3 separate regions of the Homo sapiens genome follow, and all the other regions are linked to region 2. Evidence: promoter capture Hi-C in 16 types of primary human blood cells and fetal thymus (Javierre and others, 2016). All regions are on one chromosome and are shown on one strand. Each heading gives the region's core, a stretch centred on a gene start or on the middle of the fragment in contact. The rest is flanking DNA. Distances are from core to core; before and after follow the strand shown. Region 1 overlaps GOLGA7 (golgin A7). Region 2 holds the start of POLB (DNA polymerase beta). Region 3 overlaps GPAT4-AS1 (GPAT4 and GINS4 antisense RNA 1).

Region 1 (3,913 bases), core at 800-3,299, 840 kb before region 2:
GGACAAACTGAAGGCATTAACGTAGGCATAATTAGGTGAACGTAACAGCTTACCATTTTTGTTTGCTGAGCTCTCCTCAGTCTGTTTTCGTGAATGAGAACTCACAGTTTCCCAGATGACCAGCCTTGACACCACATCTACAAGGGGTAGCTCAGTGAAGAAACACTGCCCCTGCGTTTAAAGGCCGTCTTGACCCACCTAGCCTTTGTCCAAATCTCTAATATTCCTGGAAATTTAAAGTAACTCCTTTTGAAAAATGGGTAGAGCCAACACCACTTTAAAGTTTGCATTAAATTCATGCATGCCACTAGCCCATTGACTCCTCACATTTTCCACACAACGGACAAAACAATGACTACAACTGCTTCTAACTTAAAGAGTTGTCATAGCTTAAGGATGGTCATGAATTGTTTTACACTTTAAAAGATTATGTTCTTGAGGCCAGGTGCAGGTGGCTCTTTGGGAGGCCAGGGGGGTGGATCACATGAGGCTAGGAGCCTGAGACCAGCCTGGCAACATGGCAAAACCTCGTCTCTACTAAAAATACAAAAATTAGTAGGGAATGGTGGTGCACGCCTGTAATCCCAGCTACTCGGGAGGCTGAGACACGAGAATCACTTGATCCTGGGACCAGAGGTTACAGTGAGCCAAGATTGCGCCACTGCACTCCAGCCAGGGTGACAGAGTGAGACTCTGTCTCAAAAAAAAAAAAAAAAAAAAAAAAGATTACATTCTTGGGAATAGTGAATAGTAGGGCTCATACTGTATGTTGAGGGTTTTTTTTCTTTCTTTCTTTTTTTGAGACAGGGTCTCACTCTGTCACCCAGACTGGAGTGCAGTGGTGAGATCTCAGTTCACTGCAACCTCCACTTCCCAGGCTCCAGCAATCCTCCCACCTCAGCCTCCTGAGTAGCTAGGACTATAGGCATGCACCACCACGCCTGGCTAATTTTTGCATTTTTAGTAGAGACAGAGTTTCACCATGTTGCCCAGGCTGGTCTCAAACTCCTGAGCTCAAGTGATCCACCCAGCTCAACTTCCCAAGTGCTGGGATTACAGGAATGAGCCACCACGCCAGCCTGATTTTTTTTTTTCTGAGTCGGTTTCTATTATAAAGAAAGATTTAATAGGTTCACAGAGACAGGAAAGGAGAAAAAAAAAAAGCCAAACAAAAAAGTCTTTTAAATAAGGACTTCATAAAAGAGAGAATTCATACGTAAGTAGTTATTAATTTTAGAAATAAGGGAATCCTTATGCGAGAGAAGGCCTAGAGTGCAGACAGATAAGAATGGCAGTATTGGATGATTGCTCTCCTAATGGGCCTTGAAAGTCCTGGGATGAAGTAGCAAAATTTGAAATCTGTTATACAAAGTACTATTAGAAGACAGTAAAGTAATATTGGAAGAATAAAGTAAAAGCAGATGATTGAGTGAAACAATGGATGACAGTACAGGTTCTTTCTTATGTGAAATATGTGGAACCAGAAGTATTTCAGTTTTTGGGGTTTTTTTAGATTTTGAAATATTTGTTTATACTAATGAGATATCTTGGGAATGGGATCCAAGTCTAAACACGAAATTCATTATGTTTTATATCCACCTTATACATATAACCTGAAGGTAATTTTATACAATATTTTAAATGACTTTATGAGACAAAGTGTGTGTACACTGAACCATCTTATCACCCTTTGTGAGCACGCTTGCATGGGAGAATCTGGCTGTGCATGGAAAAGATACATGGCAGCTGATGGGGGCTGGAAGGGTCTTTTTCTCTTGGGGACACTGAATAAACTATGTGTTGTGCGCCTGCATTTTGACTGTGACCCCTCACATGAGGTCGGGTTTGGAATTTCCCACTTGTGGTATCATGTCAGTGCTCAAAAGTTTCAGATTTTGGAGCCTTTCTGACTTCAGAATTTAAGATCAGGGATGCTCAACCTGTGGTAGTATTAGTGTAAATTTAAGATAATGGTGTCACCAAATAGAAAGAGGTAATAAGAATGACTTAATGTGAAAAATTGTTTATTAGCTTGAGATTTTACCTTAACAAATTTTACCTTATTTAGTAACAAGATAATTGCTTCAAAAGAGATAGGCTGAGTAAACAGAATATAGAACCTACGCCTTTTGATCCTTCTGCTAAAATGCCATTTTTTTTTTTTTTGCCTAGTAAATTCCAGTCTTTAGTTACTCAATTTAAGATTACCTGCCCTTCCCAGATAAAGGGAATTTCTCCTTGCTTTTGTGTCCCCACTAGGCTTTATATTTGCCTATATGATAGTACCCTGTCAGTTTATTGCTTTTTTTTTTTTTTTTTTTTTGAGACGGAGTCTCGCTCTGTCACCCAGGCTGGAGTGCAGTGGCGCAGTCTCGGCTCACTGCAAGCTCCACCTCCCGGGTTCACGCCATTCTCCTGCCTCAGCCTCCCCAGTAGCTGGGGCTATAGGCACCCGCCACCATGCCCGGCTAATTTTTTTTGGTATTTTTAGTAGAGACGGGGTTTCACCATGTTAGCCAGGATGGTCTCCATCTCCTGACCTCGTGATCCGCCCACCTCAGCCTCCCAAAGTGCTGGGATTACAGGCATGAGCCACCGCACCTGGCCAGCTTACTGCATTTTTATGTTTACATTGCCTGTTCTGCTTGCATAATTAAACTCTTAAGGATTGAGACAGTGCTTTATCTTGAGATTTTTCATAGTATCTGATAGTAGGCGCTCAGTAAGTGTGAAACTAAATGAATGGAAAGAGGAATAGAGCCTAAAGTTACTTGAAATTTAGTAGAAAGAATAAAGAAGTACCTTATTGAGCCTTGAAGCTATCCAGTATTTATAAGAGGGATAAAATTAAACAAATTAAGCAGTTTTGGTAACTTAGGCCCAGATTTAGTCACCAAAAAAATTGTCAACTAAGAATGGTGAGAAAACAAGATAAATTAATGATAGCATGCATTAGTTGATTTTTTTTTTCCAAAACTTAATTTTTAAATATTTTCTTCTCTACAGATTGATAGGCAGCAGTTTGAAGAAACAGTTCGAACTCTAAATAACCTTTATGCAGAAGCAGAGAAGCTCGGCGGCCAGTCATATCTCGAAGGTTGTTTGGCTTGTTTAACAGCATATACCATCTTCCTATGCATGGAAACTCATTATGAGAAGGTAATGCTACATTTGTTTTCACAAAAATCTCTTAAAATCATGAAGAAGGCAAGTTTATTACACATTGATGCTTACATGGTGATAGTTGCCGTAAAATATTTAGGGGCATTTATCATTCAAATTGTGTTGTTCCTGTGTACAGAGGCACATAGTCCTGAGTCTTTCAAAACAGGTTGCAGTTGGTATGTCCACTTGCAGATGATGTGTCAATGTTCAGACTGGCCTACACTTAAGAAGAATGTAGAAAATCTATATGTTCTCTTCCTACTCAGCTTTCTGGGAATGTTTTTACTTTATTTCCCTAAATTTCACTCTCTTCTCCCACCTGAGTTCTTACTTTCTCTTTCCAGCTGCCTACTAGCTCCCGAATTGCTGATTTCTCAACTTAAGATGACCAGAAGTCAAACCTCCCACCTCCCCATTTTGTCAATAGCACCCCTGTCTTTTCAGTACCATCTTTGGGCATGAGGGATGAAGAAGAGGGAAAAATTAATCTGTTTTCAAAGACTGAAGTATCTTTCATTTTCCCAGTCATTAACTTTTTGTGATTTCCTCTGCCACTATCCTGGGTTATGCCCTTATTCTGTCTCTCCTAGACTATTGAAATAGTCTGACTTGTCTCATTTCTTCCCTCCTTTTGCTTTTCTAAACTATCTGCTGTTGTTTTTATAAAGCGCAGATTTACTTCCCCTACTACTTCTGCCAAGTCGGAGACCTTCCCTGGATTCCCATGTTTTACCACTGAGTAAAATTC
Region 2 (3,786 bases), core at 284-2,783:
CAAAACAAAAAAATTTGTAAAACTGATCCCACAATTCCCTACATTTGTAACTTTTAAAATTCAGAGGTAAATACATTTTTATTTAAGGAGGAATAATTCTTCAGAGCAAAATAATCTGAATATCACCTGGAATAGAGATTGGACAGAAAAAAGTGTGAACAGGGAAAACTAGGACAAGTCATATATGTAAATGAGAGTATAAAGAGTAAATGAGAGTGGTCACTGCTCACTGCAGCTTAACTAATCAGATAGTTAAGTTGCAGGCATAAAGTTTTTTTAACTTTTATTCCTCAAGTAATAAATTGAGGAAAATACAAATATGTACAAAATTTTTACAAAAGCTATCCATAAAAGGGCAAGTAGTAATATATAGAAAAGATCTACCAGATTAGTAACAAACTACCCCCATTAGGAAAATGGTAAATGATATGAATAGGAAATTCAAAAAAAGAAGAATTACAGATTTCCAATAAGCATAACTTAAGATATACACTGATATTGTAAGGAAACACAATCACCACAACCTTGCTAATCAAAGAAACTAATGATATTTATTGGAAAATAATGGGAATTTTTAATAGACTGGGTTAGAAGACTAGAAGTGTACGTCCCAAAATATTAATAGTTCAGCTGTAGGGTGAGATCACTGATTTTAATTTTCTCCTTTTATACATTTTTCCAGATTTCTCTACAGCAACTACGTATCATTTTGTAATAAATTTTAATTTTTCGATGCACAAAGCAATTGCCTGGAATTGCAGTTCGATATGAACCCAGGAGTTACGCTTGTAAAATAAACTATTGCTGATGTGACATTTCCATTTCTCAAGCAGACTGTAAATTTCTCAGATGTAGGTCATCATGTTATAATTAGGGTTCCATTGCTCATGATCTAGATGAAACACTTCTCCCTTTCTTGTGGTCTCTTCATTAATTTGGTCCCTACCGCAAAGGCAGGGGGATTAAAAATAAAATATCTTTTGACACTGGTTGGCAGGTGTACTAACACGTGTGCGGGAGGATTCCTGTTCTCGGCATGGTTCACGCCGGGCTCCGGCAGCGCCCTAGTACGTAAGGGGCTGCACTGGAGTGTGGACTGCCCGGTATCCTTAGAGAAAGTTTTGACAGTGTGACGCCAGTGTCGCCTCTAACCACGTACAAAACGCGCCATGCATTGGGTAGCTATTACAGTGCACATTTTTGTGCAGGAAGCTACCCCACCAGCGCAAGTATTTCAGAATCAAGATCGCACTCCCGTTTCCCCTTCTAGGGAAAGGATTCCAGATAAACACTGAGAAAACAGATTTAATATCTTAGGTCAAAACTCCAGGTCTTCCCATAGGAAGGCCCCTGGGCTGTCATTCTGAGGTGCCTATTTCCCCCGCGCCGTGTCCACGTCCACGAGTCCACGAACCCTCCGAGTTCTCTCTCCTCACCTGCCGAGGGCTCGCCCCTCTAGCCCCGCCCCGCCCCGCCCAGGACGCGTGACGTCACAACAAGCGCCGTGCGCCCCGCCCCCCATCGGGGGCAACCATTGTTCCGCCGGTCGCGCCGGAGCTGGGTTGCTCCTGCTCCCGTCTCCAAGTCCTGGTACCTCCTTCAAGCTGGGAGAGGGCTCTAGTCCCTGGTTCTGAACACTCTGGGGTTCTCGGGTGCAGGCCGCCATGAGCAAACGGAAGGCGCCGCAGGAGACTCTCAACGGGGGAATCACCGACATGCTCACAGGTTAGCACCGGGCCGGGCCCCGCTGGCTTTCTTCTTTCCTTCCAGCCTCTTCCCCTGCCTTCCTTCTCTCCCACACCGACAGTCCAGTGGGTAGGGTAGGTTCCTTGCAGCGGGTCGTCTTCCGTGGGGATCTCCCTCCGGCGCCCCTGGCTGGTTGTCAGTCCTGCCGGCTACACCTGGGCCATCGCTTGGGCTGCTTTTGGTCTGGCCCTTGGAGGAAACGGGTGGTCACTGTCTCTTAGAGGCTGCCATATCCCCTTCCAGAAAACAGTTCTCGTTTGTTTACTCGTGGTTCTTGTTCACCCGAGCCTTCTGTTGCCTTTCAGAACTCGCAAACTTTGAGAAGAACGTGAGCCAAGCTATCCACAAGTACAATGCTTACAGGTGGGACAGTGCAGCATTCTCGGGTAGCATACGTTCTGGGATACCCTGTTTAGTGTGGCAATTAACAGGACTGAGGGCCCAGTGGATATTTGGTCCATCTGCAAGAGCGGGAAAAAGCAAGAATCGAGGCTGGTACCTTACTATTTCTTGAAGAATGTGGGCAGTGCGTTATAGGATCAGTTCAGATAAGTTCCCAATTCTGATTGCAGATAGCTGTAGCCTGATACGTATTTTGTCATCATCAAACATGAATTACTAGAAATGCGGTGTAATTTTAACCGTAATGAAAGACAGCGGATGAAGTCCATACTGTGAAATATATGTGGTTCAAGGAATCACATTTTTTCTTTTGGTTGGTCTAAAGTTGATCCTGTGGGATCCTGATCCTGATCCTTGTTCCTTGTTCATGGGATCCTGTCCTTGTTCATCTCACCAGGGGCCTTATCCTATTCATTCTTTCCACATCCACCTGCTTCTACTCCTTAGCCTATATTTATTTATTTATTTATTTTTATTTGAGACGGGGTCTCGCTGTGGTATGATCATGGCTCATTGCAGCTTCAACCTTCCAGCCTCAAGTGATCTTCCCATCTCAGCCTCCTGAGTGGCTGGGACTACTACAGGCGCACGCCACCACACCCAGCTAATTTTTTTTTCTTTCTTTTTTTTTCTTTTTTTTTTTGTAGAGACCGGGTTTTGCTATGTTGCCCAGGCTGATCTCCAACTCCTAAACTCAAATGGTCCACACACCTTGGTCTCCCAGAGTGCTGGGATTCCAGGCATCAGCCTCGGTGTCAGCTCTCCTTAGCCTATAAATATGTGCAAGTCCCTCAGCTCTTAAAAGCAAAACCAAAACAATCTTAACTTCCCTCTAGCTAGCACCTTCCCTCTTTTCTCACTTTATGGTGAATCTTCTTGAAAAATCTTCATTCCTTGCCTGGACTTCTTAATACCTAATCATTTACTCAAGAAGTCCCAGTCCTTGCCTGGACCTACCAGTGCTCTGAAAATCCGCTCACCTACGTCTCATCTTATTGGACTCTCTGTGGCATTCACCCCTGGCTCATGCTGTGAATATCTCTTGACTTCTGTAATGGCACTCTTTCTGGTCTTTCATCTCTTCTTCTGTCTTACCTTTTAATGTTGGTATAGGTTGAGCATCCCTAATCTGAAAATTTGAAATGCTCTAAAATCTGGATGATTGCCGACATGATGACACAAGTGGAAAATTCCACATCCGATCTCATGTAGTAGGTGGCAGTCAAAATGGTCAAAACTTTGTTTCATGCACAAAATTATTAAAACGACTATATAAGATTACCTTCAGGGTATGTGCGTAAGGTGTGTGAGAAATATGACTGAATTTTGTATTTAGACTTGTATCTCCCATATCCCTAAGATATCTTATTATGTATACGCAAATATTCCAAACCCTGAAAAAAATTCAAAATCTGAAACAATGCTGGTCCCAGGCATTTCAGATAAGGGATAGTTAACCTGTGGTTCCGGGGAGTCTGCCTGCCCTTAGCCCTCTTTTCTTACTTCTGTAGTTTCCCTGGCAATCTTGCCATTCTTGACTTTGAAATGCCACTTATGTCAGTGACTCCAAATCTGTGTATCACTGGACTTTTTTCCACATTTTTAGCCCTATACTGTCTTTATCCCAAGTCAGCTCCC
Region 3 (3,832 bases), core at 770-3,269, 790 kb before region 2:
TGATTTGGTCCTCAATCCAGGTGAGACTGTAGCAGGCCTCCTTTGTTTGTGTAGAAGATCATCAACTTTGCCATCTTCTGGCATCTGAAGCTTTCTGATCTCCAGTCAACAACATAACGTGTACCCTTTGGGTCCTCTTTAGTGAGCTCATGGGTAGGCTGCTGCCCACACTCTTGTCAACAGTTTAACAACTAACACGAGAGAGCCGAAGGGCTGTTTCTTCAGTCCATTTCTCTTGGTTCTCCAACTTTTTTTTTGAGACGGAGTCTCACTTTGTCGCCCAGGCTAGGGTGCAGTGGCGTGATCTTGGCTCACGGCAACATTTGCCTCCTGGAGTCCAAGCGATTCTCCTGACTCAGCCTCCAGAGTAGCTGGGACTACAGGCGCATACCACGGCGCCCAGCTAATTTTTGTATTTTTTGTAGATATGGATGGTGTCTCACCATGATGCCCACACTGATCTCGAACTTCTGAGCTCTGGCAATCCACCCACCTCAGCCTCCCAAAGTGCTAGGATTATAGGCATGAGCCACCACTCCCAGCCATCCAACTTTTACTTCTGTATCAAACTGGATCCCATTAGTCAGTATTTCTGGATGAATGTTTTAGTTCTTTGCTTTTAGCAAAGAGACAGCCATGTGAAAAACATTTCCATGTTTTCTGAAAATTAGAACTGAAGGCATTATCTATTACATATCCATTGTTTCTATATAAGAATCCCTGTAATAAATTTTTCTCAGAATTCAGTGCAAGTAAAAGTTTATATTTTCAAACTTTATGGTTCATTTTATCAGACAAATGAGTCCTATCTGTTCCCCTTCCCGGCCTTCCTACCAGGAACTCAGAGCCACTTTGTGTGCCCCTGCCTCCCTCTGAGCTTCCTTGTGTCTTTCCTTAAATAGTTTCCGATCTCCTTATGATACCTACAGTTTCAATCTTCTATTTTGCCTTAATTTTAAAAGCTACCCCAAATTTGGGGAAGAATTACATAAAAGATATATAAGTACATATTAGTAACTTGGATATATATTAGTTCCCACTTTTTAAAACATGTATGGGAATGAGTGATTTATAAGCCATTTGACAGCATATGAATTCCTAAGTAGGAAAATTCATAAGCAAAAGTGGTAATGAAGGCAGGAGGTGTAGTGTCCTCTCACTCCAGCACTTGTTTAAAAAGAGTGGCCAGGTGAGGTAAGTGACCTAGTAACAACAGCAGGTGCCAGGTATAACTCCATTCACTTTAGTCAACAAACAGGTAGGCTGGCTGGGTGCGGTGCCTCACGCCTGTAATCCCAGCACTTTGAGAGGCCGAGGCAGGCAGATCACTTGAGATCAGGAGTTCAAGACCAGCCTGACCAACATGGTGAAACCCCCATCTCTACTAAAAATACAAAAAAAAAATTAGCCGGGCATGGTGGCGGGTGCCTGTAATTCCAGCTACTCGGGAGGCTGAGGCAGGAGAATTGCTTGAACCCAGGAGGTGAAGGTTGCAGGTGAGCCGAGATGATGCCACTGCACTCCAGCCTGGATGACAGAGTGAGACTGCATCTCAAAAAAAAAAAAAAAAAGGTGGGGTTAGACATTGTGGTATGTGCTGCACATTCAGAGAAGAAAGCCCCTGTCTTAAAGCAGCTTACAGTCTAGCGAGGGAGACCAACAAAAACCAAATCACAGCATACTATGCTTGTATAAAGGTAGGAATGGGCAGGGCACAGTGGCACACTTCTGTAATCCCAGCACTTTGGGGGGCCAAGATGGAAAGATTGTTTGAGCCCAGGAGTTCTAGATCAGCCTAGGCAATACAGCAAAACCTCACCTCTACCAAAAATACTAAAGCCAGGTGTGGTGGAATGTGCTTGTAGTCCCAGCTACTCAGGAGGCTGGGGTGGGAGGATGGTTTGTTTGAGCCCAACAGGAGGACATTGCAGTGAGCCAAGATGGCACTATTGCACTCCAGCCTGGGCAACAGAGCTAGACCATGCCTCAAAAAAAAAAAAAAAAGAAAAAGAGAAAAGAAAAAATGAATGAACAGGGGGTATTATGAAAAAACACAGGAAGAACTCGAAAGACTGGAAGAGTCCTGAAGTCTTCCCAGAAGAGGTGGTACCCAAGCCAAGACTTGAAACACTGGAGAGCTAGCCAGGCTGAGGAAGGAAGAGAGGATGGCTACTGGAGGCAGAAAGGTCACATGCAAAGGCACAGAAGCCACAGGGTGGATCCAGTACTCTGGAAACTCCCAGGAGTTGGGCATGGCAGGTGCATCAGACAAGATTCGGGGATAGGAGGAGAGGCAGTTTCCCATCTTGGAGGAGTCTTATAGGAGTCTCATGGGAGACAGGTTTTCAGACAAAAGTCTTCAGGAGTCTGATTTGTCATGCTAAAATGTAAATGTATGAATTTTGCATGAAAACATTTAGAAGGCTCTGAAAGATTTTAATATTTGATATAATCAGTTTTTTTGTTTGTTTGTTTGTTTTTTGCAGGGGGGGGTGGTGGGTGGACAGAGTTTTGCTCTTGTTCCCCAGGCTGAAGTACAGTGGCGCAATCTTGGCTCACTGCAACCTCCGCCTCCCAGATTCAAGTGATTCTCCTGCCTCAGCCTCCCGAGTAGCTGAGATTACAGGCATGCGCCACCACGCCCGGCTAAGTTTTGTAGTTTTAGTAGAGATGGGGTTTCACCATTTTGGTCAGGCTGGTCTCAAACTCCTGACCTCAGGTGATTCGCCTGCCTCAGCCTCCCAAATGGCATAAGCCATTGCACCCGCCTGATAGAATCCGTTTTACATTTTTATTTTATGTATTTATTATTTATTATTATTATTACCTTTTTTTTTTTTTTGAGGCAGTCTTGCTCTGTCACCCAGGCTGGAGTGCAGTGGCACAATCTTGACTCACTGCAACCTCCACCTCCCAGGTTCAAGCAATTCTCATGCCTCAGCCTCTGGAGTAGCTGGAACTATAGGCACATGCCACCACACCCAGCTAATTTTTGTATTTTAGCAGAGACGGGGTTTGTCTATGTTGGCCAGGCTGGTCTTGAATTCCTGACCTCAAGTGATCCGCCTGCCTTGGCCTCCCAAAGTGCTGGGATTACAGTCATGAGCCAGCACACCCAGCCCAGTTTTACGTTTTTAGAAATCCAGTTCACAGAGAAATCCCTCTGGTGACTGTGGAGAATGGAGGTCACACTGGAGGGTTAGGAGCCAGGGCTGTGTGGGCAAATCCAAGCCAGAAGGAATGAGGGTCTTGTAGTACATGCAGGAAGAGGTAACCTGGCAGTGTACTGGGCCTTCTGCTGCTGTAGTGGTGGACTAGGCCATATGGATCATTTTTAGTGAAGACAAACACTGGGTGAAACATAAAAAGCATTTTTCTAAAGCCATCAAGGAGCTAACAAGCTAGTGAGGAATTGTTGCACCAAGATCTAGAAGACCACAGTCAAAAGAGGTCAATACAGGCCGGGCGTGGTGGCTCACGTGTGTAATCCCAGCACTTTGGGAGGCCGAGGCAGGCGGATCACGAGGTCAGGAGACTGAGACCATTCTGGCAAACACTGTGAAACCCCGTCTCTACTAAAACTACAAAAAATTAGCCAGGCGTGGTGGCGGGCTCCTGTAGTTCCAGCTACTCAGGAGGCTGAGGCAGGAGAATGGCATGAACCCGAGGGGTGGAGCTTGCAGTGAGCTGAGATCACACTACTGCACTCCAGCCTGGGCAACAGAGCGAGACTCCATCTCAAAAAAAAAAAAAAAAAAAAAAAAAAGCGGGGGTCAATACAGCATTTGCCCAGGCCAAGTGGTAGCTGAGAGACAGCAGTGCTTCCAACAGC

The links. Contacts are between HindIII fragments. The CHiCAGO score rates a contact against its expected background, and 5 or more counts as called.
Region 1: a fragment that was not itself captured here is called in contact with the fragment with the promoter of POLB in region 2 in 1 of 17 cell types (neutrophils); the score reaches 5.9 in neutrophils.
Region 3: a contact is called between a fragment that was not itself captured here and the fragment with the promoter of POLB in region 2, in 1 of 17 cell types (neutrophils). The highest score is 6.2, in neutrophils.

Annotation. Positions count from the first base shown.
Region 1 is chr8:41,494,503-41,498,415 of GRCh38, forward strand. It overlaps GOLGA7 (golgin A7), which reads left to right. Exons shown (of 5, transcript NM_001002296.2): 2 at 3,007-3,159. Among named protein-coding and RNA genes, the nearest start is that of GOLGA7, 5.9 kb to the left of the region's middle. The HindIII fragment of the contact is 6,770 bases long and covers 1-3,913 here.
Region 2 is chr8:42,336,961-42,340,746 of GRCh38, forward strand. POLB (DNA polymerase beta) reads left to right here and starts at 1,534. Exons shown (of 14, transcript NM_002690.3): 1 at 1,534-1,725; 2 at 2,052-2,109. The coding sequence starts at 1,665. The HindIII fragment of the contact is 11,887 bases long and covers 1-3,786 here.
Region 3 is chr8:41,549,136-41,552,967 of GRCh38, forward strand. All of the region lies in intron 1 of GPAT4-AS1 (GPAT4 and GINS4 antisense RNA 1), which reads right to left. Among named protein-coding and RNA genes, the nearest start is that of GINS4, 22 kb to the left of the region's middle. The HindIII fragment of the contact is 3,862 bases long and covers 89-3,832 here.